2 separate regions of the Homo sapiens genome follow, and region 1 is linked to region 2. The links are contacts of gene promoters, found by promoter capture Hi-C in human tissues and cell types (Jung and others, 2019). All regions are on one chromosome and are shown on one strand. Each heading gives the region's core, a stretch centred on a gene start or on the middle of the fragment in contact. The rest is flanking DNA. Distances are from core to core; before and after follow the strand shown. Region 1 has its middle 35 kb from the start of TMEM250. Region 2 holds the start of UBAC1 (UBA domain containing 1).

Region 1 (3,320 bases), core at 353-2,852, 190 kb before region 2:
GGTCACCCGTGTTTAAAAGAGCAGTTGAGGAAACTGATGGATTGTTGACTGCTGGCCACTTCCATTTCATTTTCCACTTTTCCCTGGTTATCAGAGTCAGACGCGCTCATCATCCCAAATCTGCAAAATATAGAAAAGTTGAAGAAACACAGCGACCCCTTCCCCGTCCATCCATGGATCCTGGCAGCTGCTCTCCCACATTTTCTGCCACACTCGTTCTTTGCACACCAAGGACATCCTATAGATTCTGTTTTTGAACCAGCCTTTTCTCACCACGGGATCTCCCTGCGTTACTGGAAACTCTTCCTACACGTCGTTTTTGACAGCTGCGTAATATTCCGTGCCGTGGAAGCCCCACCACTTGCTTAACGGATCTTCCCAGGAGCTCCAGGGGGCAGAGAATGATACCAGTGCCGGGGGTTGAACAGCCCTCCCTGGAGGCTGTCGTCCACGTACATGTCCAGCCATCAGTTTCACCCCTCCTAGGAGCCAGGGCCTGGCCATGGCCTTGGCCAGCTTGAGGTCCCAGTGGCGGAGACTAGGGCCAACCCACAGGGCCCACAATGCATCTGGACTCTCTCCATGGGCAGGCAACCTCTTCCACAGAGTCCTGTCTTCCCTCTGGGCCCTTCTGACCCTGGGGGGATTTTCCACAAGGGTCCAAAGGACACCACTGGCCTCCGGACCCCCTCACGGACGGCTGCCAATATGTCGGGGGAGGGGCAGGACAGGAGAGAGGGGAGGGGAGAGACTGGGGGATGGGAGAGACTGGGAGACCGGAGAGACTGGAGGGACAGGAGAGACTGGGGGATGGGAGAGACTGGGAGACCGGAGAGACTGGAGGGACAGGAGAGACTGGGGGATGGGTGAGACTGGGAGACCGGAGAGTCTGGAGGGACAGGAGAGACTGGGGGATGGGAGAGACTGGGAGAGCGGAGAGACTGGAGGGACAGGAGAGACTGGGGGATGGGAGAGACTGGGGGGATGGGAGAGACTGGGGGACGGAAGAGACTGGGGGGATGGGAGAGACTGGGGGACGGAAGAGACTGGGGGGATGGAAGAGACTGGGGGGATGGGAGAGCCTGGAAGGACAGGAGAGACTGGGGGGATGGGAGAGACTGGGGGATGGAAGAGACTGGGGGAGGGGAGAGACTGGGGGATGGAAGAGACTGGGGGGATGGGAGAGACTGGGGAATGGGAGAGACTGGGGGGATGGAAGAGAATGGGGGGATGGGAGAGACTGGGGGGATGGGAGAGCCTGGAAGGACAGGAGGGGGGACGGAAGAGACTGGGGGATGGGAGAGACTGGGGGGACAGGAAAGACTGGGGAACCGGAGAGACTGGGAGGATGGGAGAGACTGGGGGAATGGGAGAGACTGGGGGGACAGGAGAGACTCAGGGGATGGGAGAGACTCAGGGGATGGGAGAGACTGGAGGGACGGGAGAGACTGGGGGGATGGGAGAGAATGGGGGGATGGGAGAGACTGGCCACGAGGCTCCCTTCTTGATCCCATGGACTCTAATCCAGCGTCTGAAACTGGTTCTGGAGCAGATGCTACTGTACCAAGAAGGACATGCTCCTCTCCTAACACACGTGGTGCATGGAGACCTCATTCCTCACCAGACCTAGCCACCCGTGCAGGCCCTTCCTTGTGTGCTGGGCTCCGCTCTAAGCCTCCGACATGGGACTGCTTGCTTCACCGCCACACCTCGGGCAGGGGCTGCTGTTCCGTCCATTTCACCGATGAGCAGACTGCAGGAGGAGAGGTGAGGTCCTGAAGCCCGCAGGTGGCAGAGCCTGCCCCGCCCTGGCAGCCCCTTTTATGGCAGTGTCTCTGCCACCTGCCGGGTGGCCCTTCCAGAAGGGGGCGGCCAGGGCAGCCTTCGGCCCTTGCCTAAAGCCGTGTGCAAGACAGGCAGGGCAGCCGCTGGCACTGAGGGCGGGCCAGGAGCCCAGACTTCTTCTCATGCCAGGGGCCTCACCGCTGGGTGGGGCAGGCTCCTGGCAGAGGTGCGGCGTGGACACGCACACCCCAGCCCAGCCTCGTGTGCCATGGGCAGGGTAGCCACTCACCAGCTCTGGGATGTGGGACATACTGGTTGCAGGCCCCGAGCCTCAGTTTCCCCTTGTGAAAAATGAAGTCTTGGGCCTGTGGTCAGCTCAGGGGGATCTCTGAGCTGTGTGCCCCTTTTCTCCTGATCCCTCCAGCCTCAGACGTGGGTGACAGCGTGAGGGGCGGGCACCACCCAGGCAGCGACAGTGGAGCCCTGGTTCTGGGAAGGGTCTGGGGTTCTGAGCTGCTAAGTCCTGAAGTGAGGGCTCTGTGGGGGACGGAGTCAGGAGGTCTCGTGCCCAGGCCCAGAGGGTCGCAGAGCCGGGGCACTCTGCTGTGCCCAGCCCTTCAAAGGAGGTGGTTTCTTCTTCCCCTCAGTGAGAATTCACTGGATGGTCAGGGTGAGCATCTACGAAGCTGAGGCCCAGCGACGAGGCTCACCCGTGACCTGGCCTGGCAGTTCCCCCTCCTCAGCCCACGTTCTGCTGTGGTCGAGTGACAAATCCACTCCTCTGGCCTCTCTGGAGCCTCATTCTCCTTCCTAGCTCCTCCAGCCTCCCTGAGCTCACTGCTGCTCAGCCAGCCCTTCCTGACCACAGCCACACATTGAGCCCTGTTCCTCTCAAACTCTGACCCCGACCCTGGCCATCGATCTTGATCTCTGCCTCAGACTAGGCCCCGATCCCTGTCACAGACCAGGCCCTGATTTCCATCACAGACCAGGCCCTGATCCCTGTCTCAGACCAGGCCTTGATCCCCATCAGAGACCAGGCCCTGATTCCTGTCTCAGACCAGGTCCTGATCCCCGTCACAGGCTGGACCCTGATCCCCATCACAGACCAGGCCCTGATCCCCATCACAGACCAGGTCCTGATCCCCGTCACAGGCCGGACCCTGATCCCCGTCACAGGCCAGATCCTGATCCCCGTCACAGGCCGGACCCTGATCCAGACCAGGCCCCGATCCCCATCACAGACCGGACCCCGATCCCCATCACAGACCAGACCCCGATCCCCGTCACAGACCAGGCCCCGATCCCCGTCACAGACCAGGCCCCGATCCCCGTCACAGACCAGGCCCTGATCCCCGTCTCAGAAGAGCCCTGAGCCCACACTCCAGTCCCAGCTAGAGCCGGATCCCGGAGGAGGAAGGCATTGTGCAGGCTCCCATCCTCAGCGGAGGGCCGGCAGGATCACCCTCACTGTTGGGAGATGGCAGGCCTCTCTGCAGGGGACCAAGGATGACCATATTCTGAGGCATCTCAGC
Region 2 (3,185 bases), core at 278-2,777:
CTCCACTCACCACCTTGGTGTTCCTCCCCTTTCTCCTCCACCAGCTTCCACGATACTACCACCACCTCCACTGCGGTCTCTAACAGTCGGTACTTCTGCTTCCTGCGTTAAAAATGCCCCATTCCAGGACTGTATCCTGGTGTCTGGTCTTAATCACTACCATATTTTCATTGAGTAGCAGAGGCTCCCACCTGTGAGAGGCAATTAGTAAGTGCTGAACTGGACACATGGAATCTGGACGAGGTTGGAATTATCACAGGAGAAAAATGAGGATGTGTGTGCAAAATGGTGTGGACAGAATAAAAGCCTGCAGGCAGGAGGCAGAGACAGCCTCCCCGGTTAGATTGCTAACCTCTGAGAACGGGAACTGTGCCTTATTCATCTCTGCGCAGTAAAGTTTTTTTAAATGAATGGGATGAATGAGTACAGATCAGTCAATGTGTCAGGTCTAACCTGAACTACAAAATTCATATTTAGGAGCATGGTAAGTAAGACGTTATCCAGGACTGTTGAGCTAGGTACAGAGACCACTGCCAAGGGGGCTTGCAGTGGGGAGAGAGGTCAGGCTCAACTCCCAATACAGCAAGGGCAAGTGGGTGGGGTCAGTGAATGGAAAATTAATAGGAGAAAACATCAGGGATGTGGGCGGTTCTGGCTAAACCGACCTGACAGGGTTCTTGCTGAAGAGAGGCTGGAGATATCAGACAGCACCTGGGGGACGAGGAACCTGACCAGACGTCCAGGGTGATCTGATATTGAGGCTGGGAGTTCTTGCTAAACTCACTTATCAAGGCTCTTCGCTAAAACTGGATTTTACAAGGAAGTGTACAGATGATGTAGAAGGTTCAGGAGCCTGCTTAAGTTTGGCCAAGCAAAGACTCTTTGTCACACCCCACAGAAAATGAGTCTGCCTGGCATCACCTGCACCAAGGGCGGCTTCCCTCCCCTCTGGGTGCCCCGCAAACCTAGGCTTCGCAGGAACAGTGACTCTCTGATCTGCGTGTGAATTAGAAAGACCTAGGCTTGTTAAAGCCAAGTTCTTTGGAGAGCCTCCGTTCTACAGCAGTGCAGTGCAAAAGAAATATCACAGCAGCCATGTAGGCAATTTAAAATTCTATCTTAAAAAGGTTAAAAGAAACAGGTGAAATTAATTTTAATGACATATTTTTCTTAACTCAATAGATACAAAATATTATTTCAACATGTAATCAATATGAAAACATTATCGAGATGCCTTACATTCCTTTTTCCCGTTACTTCTTTGGGATCCAGCGTGTATTTTACCTTTAGAACCCATGAGGTCCCACGTGGTGAGTGCCCCGGGTGGGAACCGCCTGCAGCTCGGGGAGGAACGAAGCTACCAGAGAACTACAGCTCCCGGCATGCTCCGGGCGCGCCCCGTGACGCACTTCCTTTGCGGTGGCCACAGCGCGCCCCCGGCGGCGGGAGCGAGGCGCCTGTCCGAGAACCACATCTCCCGGCATGCGCCAGACGCGCCCGTGACGCACTTCCGGTGCGGCCGCGACGGCGCGCCCCCGGCGGCTGCTGCGGCGGCGGGAGCGAGGCGACCGCTGAGGCCGCGGAGAGTGACGGCGGCCCGGCCGACGGGAGCCGGGGCGGGGCGGCGGCCCAGCGAAGGAGCGCGCGGGCGGTCTGGCCCCGCCCCCTCCCCGCCCGCCTTCCCGGTGACCTTCAGGGGCCCGGGTGGCGGGCGCAGGCCCCTGCGGCGGCGGCGGGATGTTCGTGCAGGAGGAGAAGATCTTCGCGGGCAAGGTGCTGCGGCTGCACATCTGCGCGTCCGACGGCGCCGAGTGGCTGGAGGAGGCCACCGAGGACACCTCGGTGGAGAAGCTCAAGGAGCGCTGCCTCAAGCACGTAAGGCCGGGCCCCCTCCCCTGCCCCCAACACCCGCTCCGGACCCCTCCGACTGCGGACCCCGCCTCAGTCCCCGAACCGCCCCGACCTGGGGTCCGCCGCCCAGTCCGCAGCTCCCAGGCCCTCTCCTCCGGGGGTGGAGGCAGCGCCTCCTGCCCGTTTGCCCGACTCTCCCCCTTTCGGATCCCACACCTCTGGACGCTCGTCCCGGGCCTGGCCTTTCGGCCGGCGGACTCCGGTCACTAAGCGCTCGCCCCGTGCCAGCCGCCCGGCCGAGCCCTGTACACGCCAGCCTCTCAGTTAACTCTGCAGCCACGCAGGGAGGTAGGGGCAGATCGGGAAACTGAGGCCTGGAGAGTGAAGTCGCCGACGGAGCAGGGCCTCGGGACTTTCCGGCAGTTGTACCTTTTTGCTGTTGGGGTGAGGTTTTTTTTCAGCAGCATCTTTGAGAGCTGAGAATTAACGTAGGCTCCTTCATGAAGAGGCCCCTTCTCCTTCCTCTTCCCCTTTCCCGCAGAGCCGGCTGCTTGGAGCTCTTTTCCTGGCTGGCCCCAGGCCACTGTGCCTTTTAGCTGGAGTCCCTGAAATAGTGCCGCTGCGGGACAAGGCCCTGCGCCCCTGCTTTTCTGCAGAGGTAAAATTGGTCAAGAGAGAAGTCCCAGGAGTAGGGTCTCCTCGCGGAGACACTTTTTAAAGTTTATTCACCTGAAATACTCCTGTGTATTTAGTTCCTTAGGTTGCTGATTTTTGGAACTAGTTCTCGAGTCTCTAAAGGACTCAGTAAGGTCAGCTAAGAAGCCTGTCTGTGTGTCAGACTGACCTCCTGTCTATACCTGACATGATCTGAGGGCTTGGCAGAATTTAGGTTGAAGGAGGCTGCAATTTTCTAGTGGCGACTCCATGTGATAAGTTACGACGTATCTGTGTTGACAGGTTGAGTGCGTTACACTTGAGCTGAGTGTGGTCTCTAAGGATAAACTTCAGTTCTTACCATAGTAGCTGCTCGCATACAGTACTTTCGAGTTGCTTTTGTGAGCATGGTTCTGTGGAGTTCTGGAACTGTCAGAGGCAAGCTTGGCAAGCCCCCTTCTGGAACGCACTGGCTGTGAATAACTGGGAGGTGCTGGCCTCAGGATTCACACCAAGGAGGGGGCTGAGCCTCCTGCGTTCAAGGGCCGGTATGTTTTGGCTGCTTTCTTGCTTTTCTTCTGCCCCAGTCTGCATGATTTTGCCGTCTGAACAACCATCGGGGCATCACTAAGCTCCAGCGCCGGTAACTCCGTGGGCATCCAGGCTGTTTGAGCCAGGTG

The links. The method cuts DNA at HindIII sites, captures the fragments that hold promoters and counts their contacts. A contact is called where the count stands out against the background at its distance.
Region 1: a contact is called between a fragment that was not itself captured here and the fragment with the promoter of UBAC1 in region 2, in 2 of the 25 tissues and cell types used here (dorsolateral prefrontal cortex and lymphoblastoid cells).

What each region holds. Positions count from the first base shown.
Region 1 is chr9:136,152,140-136,155,459 of GRCh38, reverse strand. No RefSeq gene overlaps it. Among named protein-coding and RNA genes, the nearest start is that of TMEM250, 35 kb to the right of the region's middle. RefSeq lists an enhancer at 2,509-3,077. The HindIII fragment of the contact is 8,476 bases long and covers 1-3,320 here.
Region 2 is chr9:135,959,715-135,962,899 of GRCh38, reverse strand. It overlaps UBAC1 (UBA domain containing 1), which reads left to right and starts at 1,527. Exons shown (of 10, transcript NM_016172.3): 1 at 1,527-1,875. The coding sequence starts at 1,738. RefSeq lists silencers at 1,378-1,787, 1,798-1,917 and an enhancer at 1,407-1,907. The HindIII fragment of the contact is 18,279 bases long and covers 1-3,185 here.